Regions from separate parts of the Homo sapiens genome. Here all the other regions are linked to region 3. The links are contacts of gene promoters, found by promoter capture Hi-C in human tissues and cell types (Jung and others, 2019). All regions are on one chromosome and are shown on one strand. The core of a region is centred on a gene start or on the middle of the fragment in contact, and the rest is flanking DNA. Distances in the headings are between cores, read along the strand shown.

The links. Contacts are between HindIII fragments. The study calls those that stand out against the background at their distance.
Region 1: a fragment that was not itself captured here is called in contact with the fragment with the promoter of HSD17B3 in region 3 in 1 of the 25 tissues and cell types used here (lymphoblastoid cells).
Region 2: a contact is called between a fragment that was not itself captured here and the fragment with the promoter of HSD17B3 in region 3, in 1 of the 25 tissues and cell types used here (dorsolateral prefrontal cortex).

Annotation. Positions count from the first base shown.
Region 1 is chr9:95,553,667-95,556,379 of GRCh38, forward strand. No RefSeq gene overlaps it. Among named protein-coding and RNA genes, the nearest start is that of PTCH1, 46 kb to the left of the region's middle. RefSeq lists an enhancer at 1-147. The HindIII fragment of the contact is 5,995 bases long and covers 1-2,713 here.
Region 2 is chr9:95,392,648-95,395,347 of GRCh38, forward strand. All of the region lies in intron 2 of LOC105376156 (a long non-coding RNA gene), which reads right to left. Among named protein-coding and RNA genes, the nearest start is that of FANCC, 76 kb to the left of the region's middle. The HindIII fragment of the contact is 5,875 bases long and covers 1-2,700 here.
Region 3 is chr9:96,300,701-96,303,450 of GRCh38, forward strand. HSD17B3 (hydroxysteroid 17-beta dehydrogenase 3) reads right to left here and starts at 1,476. Exons shown (of 11, transcript NM_000197.2): 1 at 1,251-1,476. The coding sequence starts at 1,404. SLC35D2-HSD17B3 (SLC35D2-HSD17B3 readthrough) reads right to left here. Exons shown (of 26, transcript NR_182427.1): 16 at 1,251-1,611. The HindIII fragment of the contact is 9,231 bases long and covers 1-2,750 here.

The DNA.
Region 1 (2,713 bases), core at 178-2,677, 750 kb before region 3:
TCTCCAGAAGACACGTCCATGTCCGGGAACCTAATTTGTAAAGAGGGTTTTTGAGGATTAAATCAAGTAAAGGTTTTTGAGAGGAGATCATCCTGGAGTTAGGCTGAGCCCTAGATCCAATGACAAGTGTCTTTATAAGAGGCACGGGGGGTCGGGGGGACAAAGTAGGAGAAGGCCATGTGGAGAGGCAGGCAGAGATTGGAGTCACAAACCAAGCAATGCCCAGAGCTACCCACAGCTGGGAGAGGCAGGGAAAGATTCTCCTCTAAAGCCTTGGTGGGGAGCATGGCCCTGCCCACACCTTGATCTTGGACTTCCAGCCTCCAGAGCTGTGAGAGGGCCCATTTCTGTTGTTTAGTCCACCAGGTCTGTGGTCTTCGGTGATCTGTGGTCATTGGTTGGCAGCCCTGGGAAGCTGGTAGAGGCACCCTCTCAAGCTGCTGTTTTCTGCTTGGTTGTATCTAGGGCTGAAAGCCATCCAGTTCAACACGCTTCCTTTGGACTCACTTAACGAACTCACCAAAGCTGGCCTTTTCTTATTATATTTAGAGCGTTTGGGGCTGTCCCCAAACAGCAAAGCCTCCCTCTTTTCCACTCCCTTCCAGCCTTCTCTTCTCTATCCAGACTGAATAGCATCCACCAGAAACCACCTCAGAAGGCTCACATCCTAGAGCTGAAAAATGACTTGGCAGGTTTTAATTTTTTCATATCATTTTTTAAAATGAGCAAAATTTATGCCTTGTACAATGACTTGTAGACAATTGAAACAATCTAGAAGAATAAGCTTTGCCTTCACCCCCTGCGCCCTTCTTCCATCACACCTCCTATGCCCATGGTAACCAGTGATAACCAAGAACACTCTGGTGAAGACCCTTCCAGTCCTTTCTCTAGGAAGACACTTTCCAAGTGACAAAGTACTCAAATATATAGGAAATGTAAGCTTTGACACAGGTAGAAACAGAACCAGGCTTGTTGAAGCAGCCATGGTGGGATGCTTGGAATCCACTGACTATTGCTCCTACAATCTCTCCGAGGAACCCACAGACTACAAGGCACAAAGACAAATTGAAAACCACTATCTTAGCCCTCCTGGGGATCCGGCCTTGGAAACCAAGGTCAATGCCATGGTTTGAATGTTCATGTCGTCTCCAAAATTCATGTTGAAACAGTCCCCAAAACAAAAGTATTAAGAGGTGAGGCCTTTAGGAGGTGGTCAGGCCATGAGGGCTGTCTTCAGGGATGGAATTAGTGCCTTGTAAGAGGGCTGGAGGGAGCTAGCTAGGTCTTTTGTGCTTCTGCCTCTTGTTGTATGAGGACCTAGCAACAAGGCACCATCTTGGAAGCAGGAGCTGCCCTCACCAGACACCTGCTCTGCCAGTGCCTTGATCTTGGACTTCCAGACTCCAGAACCGTGAGCAATACATTTCTGTCCTTTATAAATCATGGAGTCTGTGGCATTTTTGTTATATAGCCCAAATGGACTAAGGCAGCCAGGACGAGGGCAAGGCATGTGTGTGAAAAGGTATGGAGGTGCTCATTCGCAGAGCTTAGGAGCTCTTCAGGTTGGATGGTGAAGACCCAGACACGGGCAGAGGAGGGGTCATGGCTCTCTCTCTTTGAGGCTTCTGGGTATTTCAGAAGGAGGAAGAAGCTGTAGTGATTATTTCCAGCTACATACACCAGGAACTCTCCTCCAAAGCCTACATATCTCCCCATGTCTCCTACAGTGAAAGCCAAAGTCCTTGCTGGCCACACAGGATCTGCTCCTTCACACCACCCCAGAGACTCTTCCTCCCCAATCACATCCCCTGTCACTATTTCCTCCACCTGCCCTACTCCAGTCTCTGGCCTCCCTCCTGTCCCTCAGACACACCAAGCTCGGCACCTGTGCATTTGCTCTTCCCTTTACCTGGAGTGCTCTTCCCCAGGTATCCGGGCTTCTCCCTTACTTCCTGCAGACCTCTGCTCACATGCCCCTGATCTGAGCTTCCCCAGCCACCCTACGCAAGTGGCACCTGCCCCACCCACCACATGCTCTTCCCTGCTTCCTTCACTTCTCCAGTACTGGGTGTCACCTGACTTTCCAGCCATAGGGAGACAGACAGACTGTACCACAGCTTTTGTGAGAAATAATACAAAAATAAGTCAGCTGCTTTCTCCCACTGACTGCACTGCAGAGATGTCACTGAGTACCTGGTCTGCTCTTCCCCAGGCTTCCTTCTCCTCTCTGGCTTCCAGAAACTTGGGGGCCAAATTTGAGGGTGAACTCTAAGAACTCTGTAGGACTTTGATGTCTTTCTCTTTGGCTGTGATTTTTCAGACTTATTCACATTTCCCCACCCTCGTTTCTTGTGCCTGTTGTGTTATGTTATGCTGTGGAGTTTGCTTTTTTCATAACCGAAGGAAGAGGCGGGAGAGAAGTAAGGCACTTGTTGAGGTCCCAGATGAATACACACACTTGAAGAAGGTGACACTCCTTGATTGCCTGTACTTCTGGGGCGAGCTGCTGGGACTTTTGGCCCAGCAGGCACAGTTGGAAATTTAATACTGCCTGGGACAGATTTTAAAAAGATGGCTGGTACAAGTAGTTCAGTCAAGTACTGAGATCAAGTTTTTGCTCACGTAGTCTTATGTAAAAGATAGTATGGATAAGAACATGTATCCATAGGTTTACAGAATGTTTGAGCTAGAAGAAATTGTTGGTACATCCAAA
Region 2 (2,700 bases), core at 128-2,627, 910 kb before region 3:
TATAAATTTTACAATAAACTTACCTTTGTCTATAAAAAAACCTTGTTGGGATTTTGATAGGAATTTCATTACATCTGTAGATCAATTTGGGAAGAAATGACATGCTTACTATACTGAATCTTCCAATTCATGAATTAGTATGTCTCTCCATTTATATAGGTCATTTCTTATAGGTTGATTATAGGTATATAGGTTGATTTCTTTTGTCAGCATTTTTTTATTTTGTTGTGTTATGTCCATGGGTTTTAGTTGTAAAGGAGAGGACCTGGGGGAAAAGGAGCTACTTCATCTTGGTGGAATTGGAAGTCCTATTACAGTTGTCTCCTCTTATCCATGCTTTTGCTTGGAAAGTTAGTTTCAGTTACTTGTGGTCAACAGTGGTCTGAAAATATTAAATGGAAAATTCCATAAATAAAGAATTCATAAGTTTTAAATTTTGCACTGTTCTGAGTAGCATGATGAAATCTTGCCCCTTTCTGCTCCATCCCACCCAGGACGTGAATCATTTCTTTATCCAGCATATCTACTCAGCATATGCTGCCTGACCACTAGTTACTTGGTAGTCCTCTTGGTTATCAGACCAAAAAACTAGTATATATAGCGTTTGGTACTATGTGTGGTTTCAGGCATCCTCTGGGGGTCTTGGAATGTATCTCTTGCAGGTAAGGAGGACTCTCTATTGGCTTTTGAACTCTTCAAGGTCAGAGATTTTGTCTGCTTTTTTTCTGCAACATGAAGTCTAGCATGCTGTCTGTCACAGTAGATGGTTTAATACATGTCGGATTAATAAACAAGTAATTGATATTTGTTGAGAAAATAATTTTGTGTTGGATGCAGAGAATATGTATGAGGTATTTTTTCTACCCTTAGAGAACAAACTATATGACTGTGAAAACTTAATGTGAAACTTACACGTTTAGTTTTGTGTAATGTGGTTTTGTTTAGTGGGTATTAGAATGAAATTTGAAATCCAGTGGTCCTGGATATGAATCTGGCCTCCATTAATTTACTAGCTATATGACCTTGGGAAAGTTCCTTAACTTCTCTGACACTAGGATTTTCTCATTTAAAAAATTGGGTGCTGGCTGTAGTCACCTGTCAGGGTTTTTATAAGGTTAAATGGTATAATACATGAAAAGTACTTGACTCTGTGCTTGACATGTAGGAAGCCCTCAAAACTGGTAGTGACTAAAGAAAATGATAAGCAGCATTACAGCACAGGTAAGTGATAACTGGGTTACACAAAGTATAACAGGAACGCCTATGGAAACCTAAAGTTGTAGGGAAAGACTTTATGGAGGAAGCAGGACTTGATCTAGCCCTTAAAAAAGAACAACGCTAGCTGGGCACAGTGGCTCATGCCTGTAATCCCAGCACTCTGGGAGGCCGAGGTGGGCGGATCACCTGAGGTCGGGCGTTCGAGACCAGCCTGACCAACATGGAGAAACCCTGTCTCTACTAAAAATACAAAATCAGCCGGGTACAGTGGCACATGCCTGTAATCCCAGCTACTCGGGAGGCTGAGGCAGGAGAATCGCTTGAAACCAGGAGGTGGAGGTTGTGGTGAGTCGAGATCGTGCCATTGCACTCCAACCTGGGCAACAAGAGTGAAACTCCATCTCAAAAAAAACAAAACAAAACAACAATGCTTAGACAAGCTTCGAGGTGAGAGTGAGTGAACATGGTTATGGCATTCCAAAGAGACAAGACATAATGAGCTATGGTTAGGAAGCTGCAATGTGTATGGCAGGCTCGCAAAACAAAAAGATTACTTGGATGATCCAAGAAATCTTGTACAGAAGTAATAGCAATAAGGTAGACTAGATGTCCTGAAAATCATTCCTCTACAAAATCCCTAAAAATGCTTATTTTTTAAAGACTTTATAGTTACATTTTCAAAAAGTAAGGGAAATCCTCAAATTCCAAAAAAGTACTTAAAAGCATGAATTCAAGCATCAGAGTTAAACTACATAGCAGACCAAATAGGCCTAAGCGACATTTACAGACCATTTCACCCAAATGCTGCAGAATACACGTTATTTTCATCAGGACATGGAACATTCTCCAGAACAGATCATATCTTAGGCCATGTGACAAGTCTCAACAGATTTTTTAAAAATATAAATCATATCAAGTGTCTTTTCTAACAAAAATGGAATAAAACTAGAAATCAGTAGCAAGAAGAACCTTGAAAACCACAAAACACATGGAAACTAAACAACATGCTCTTGAACAACCTATGGGTGAGAAAAGAAATAAAGAAGAAAATTAAAAAATTTATTGAACTACATCACAAAGGAAATACAACATACCAAATCTATTGAATATAGCAAAAGCAGTACTAAGAGGGAAGTTTATAGCAATAAATATCTATATCAAAAAAGTAGAAAGACTTTAAATAAACAACCTAAAATGTGCCATAAGGAACTAGAAAAAAAGAAAAAACCAAACCCTAAATTAGTAGAAGGAAATAAATAATAAAGATCAGAGCAGAAATATATGAAACTGAGACTTAAAAATACAGATCAATAAAATGAAAAGTTGGTTTTTTGAAAAAATAAACAAAATCAACAAACCCTTAGCTAGATTAAGAAAAAAAGAGAGAAGACCCAAATAAAATTAGAAACAAAGAAGGAGACACAACTGAGACCACAGAAATAGAATCATTAGAGACTGTTATGAACAACTACATGCCAACAA
Region 3 (2,750 bases), core at 226-2,725:
AAACCATGGCCTCATGCTCTTCACCTTAACTTCAGTCATAGGGCTGAAGTTCTGCATGGGCGTTCCAGTAGATAAATCCCATGGGGAGGCAGCATTAATTGACACCAGCCAGACCCAGATTCCATTCCATACCATCCTGAAAACATGGCTCCATAGAGTTATGCGTTGCCTTGATTTTGTAACACCTTCATTTCTTAAAAACACTTGGATCCTTTTTTTAATACAATGAGTTAAAATTATTTAGATTTCAAAATTTGGAAACACCTTTTAGTAAAGTGAAAGCACCCTGGGCTTTTTGTAAATTTAGAGATGAGGATGCAGAAATTTCTGCATTATTTATTATTTGTATTAGCAGGAAACTCCCAAAAGAAGAAAACTCATCTAATGGGGTTGAGAGGATAAGTGCTTAGCAAGGGCTGGGTAGCCTTCTGCCCTAGTGTTCCCCTAATGCCCTACAGCTTGTGTTGCAGACCATTCTAATTTCACTCACACTTTTCTAATCCCCCCAATTAAAATTACCCAAAGGAATTACTTCTTTGCTCTCAAAGAGAAAAAAATGCAATATCCCTTTTGAGACATAAATAATAATAAGCAGGGGCTGGGTGCGGTGGCTCACGCCTGTCATCCCAGCCGTTGGGGAGGCCGAGTCGGGTGAATCACAAGGTCAAGAGTTTGAGACCAGCCTAGCCAACAGGGTGAAACCCTGTCTCTACTAAAAATACAAAACGTTGGCTGGGTGCGGTGGCTCACGCCTGTAATCTCAGCACTTTGAGAGGCTAAAGTGGGCAAATCATGAGGTCAGGAGTTCGAGACCAGCCTGGCCAACATGGGGGAACCCTGTCTCTACTAAAATACAAAAAATTAGCCAGCCGTAGTAGTGTGTGCCTGTAATCCCAGCTACTTGGGAGGCCGAGGCAGGAGAATTGCTTGAACCCAGGAGGCAGAGGTTGCAGTGAGCAGAGATCGCACTACTGCACTCCAGCCCGGGCAACAGAGTGAGACTCTGTCTCAAAAAAAAAAAAAAAACACCATTAGCCAGGTGTGGTGACAGGCGCCTATAATCCCAGCTACTTGGGAGGCTGAGGCAGGAGAATTGCTTAAACCCGGGAAGCGGAGGTTGCAGTGAGCCAAGATCGCGCCATTGCACTCCAGCCTGGGTGACAGAGCAAGTGTCTGTCTCAAAAATAATAATAATAGTAACAAGCAGGAACAACAGCAGCAAAAAAACATGAGATGGAACACTCCCTTACCTGCCCACTGTCCCATTGACCGCAAGAAAGACTTTGGCAAAACTTTCCAGTAGTTCAGTAAAACACATCTGGAGAATCTCACGCACTTCGCCAGGCAGGCCAGGCACACCAGCAGCCCTGTGAGGATGAAGAACTGTTCCAGGACGTCCCCCATGGCTGCACTCAACAGACTGTTTCAGCCCTGGCCGTGGCTCTCTGTGTATGCCTCCTGGGACCACGCTGCTCTGGAGACCTCCAGATCTTCTTCCAGGAGTCACTGGACGTGTTCCATCAAGTCAGGGGCATCTAGATTAAAGTAACTTCTTTACATAATCCTCTGACTCACAGGCCTTTGAATAAGGCTTTTGTTACTGTGGAGGAGCTGGTGAAAAAGTAAAAGGTGGACATGAAGGGAAAAAAACAAAGCCTGGACAAATATAAAATGGCAGCCCACAGTTCTCTCCCTGAATTTGGGAAAGTTAAAAAGGATGCAGAATCCAAGGCAATTATTCATACATTTAGCACTATGTATTGACTGCCTACCAGGTGGAGTCCCCTCTTGAAGGCATTAGGAAGTTAATAGTGACCACAGAGGGTCTCTCTGGTTTGGAGCTTAGATTCTGGTAGCAGGGACAGATGATGAGCAGATAAATAAGATAACATCAGATGGGGCAGTGGCTCACGCCCATAATCCCAACATTTTGGGAAGCCAAGGCAGGCGGGTCACATGAAGTCAAGAGTTCAAGACCAGCCTGGCCAACATGGTGAAACCTCATCTCTACTTAAAATACAAAAATTAGCCAGGCCTGGTGGTGGGCACCTGTAATCCCAGCTACTTGGGAGGCTGAGGCAGGAGAATCACTTGAACTTGGGAGGCGGAGGTTGCAGTGAGCCAAGATCACGCCATTGCACTCCAGCCTGGGTGACAGAGTGAGATTCTGTCTCAAAAAAAAAAAAAAGATAACATCAGTGCTATGAAAAAGCACTATTGAATGATGTGTTTGAGTAGCTACTCAGGGAATGCTTCAGAGAGGGTGTTCAGGAAGGAATTCCATGAAGAGGTGGCATTTTTAGTTGAAATTTGAATGAAAAGGAGCCAGCTCCGCAAAGATGAGTTTCCCCCTCCAGGCTAATGGAACGGCTAGTACAATGCCTGAAGTGAGAAAAATCCACGTATTTGAGGAATAAGAACTAGGACAGGACAGGCATGGTGGCTCACGCCTGTAATCCCAGCACTTTGGGAGGCCGAGGCAGGCGGATCACAAGGTCAGGAGATTGAGACCTACTAAAAATACAATAATTAGCTGGGTGTGGTGGAGCATGCCTGTAATCTTAACTACTTCGGAGGCTGAGGCAGGAGAATCGCTTGAACCTGGGAGGTGGAAGTTGCAGTGAGCTGAGATTGTGCCACTGCACTCCAGTCTGGGCGACAGAGCAAGACTCCATCTCAAAAAAAAAAAAAACACTAGGACAACACAGCAGAGGGACTGGCCACAGAGAGTAAGGGAGGAAAAGGCCAGA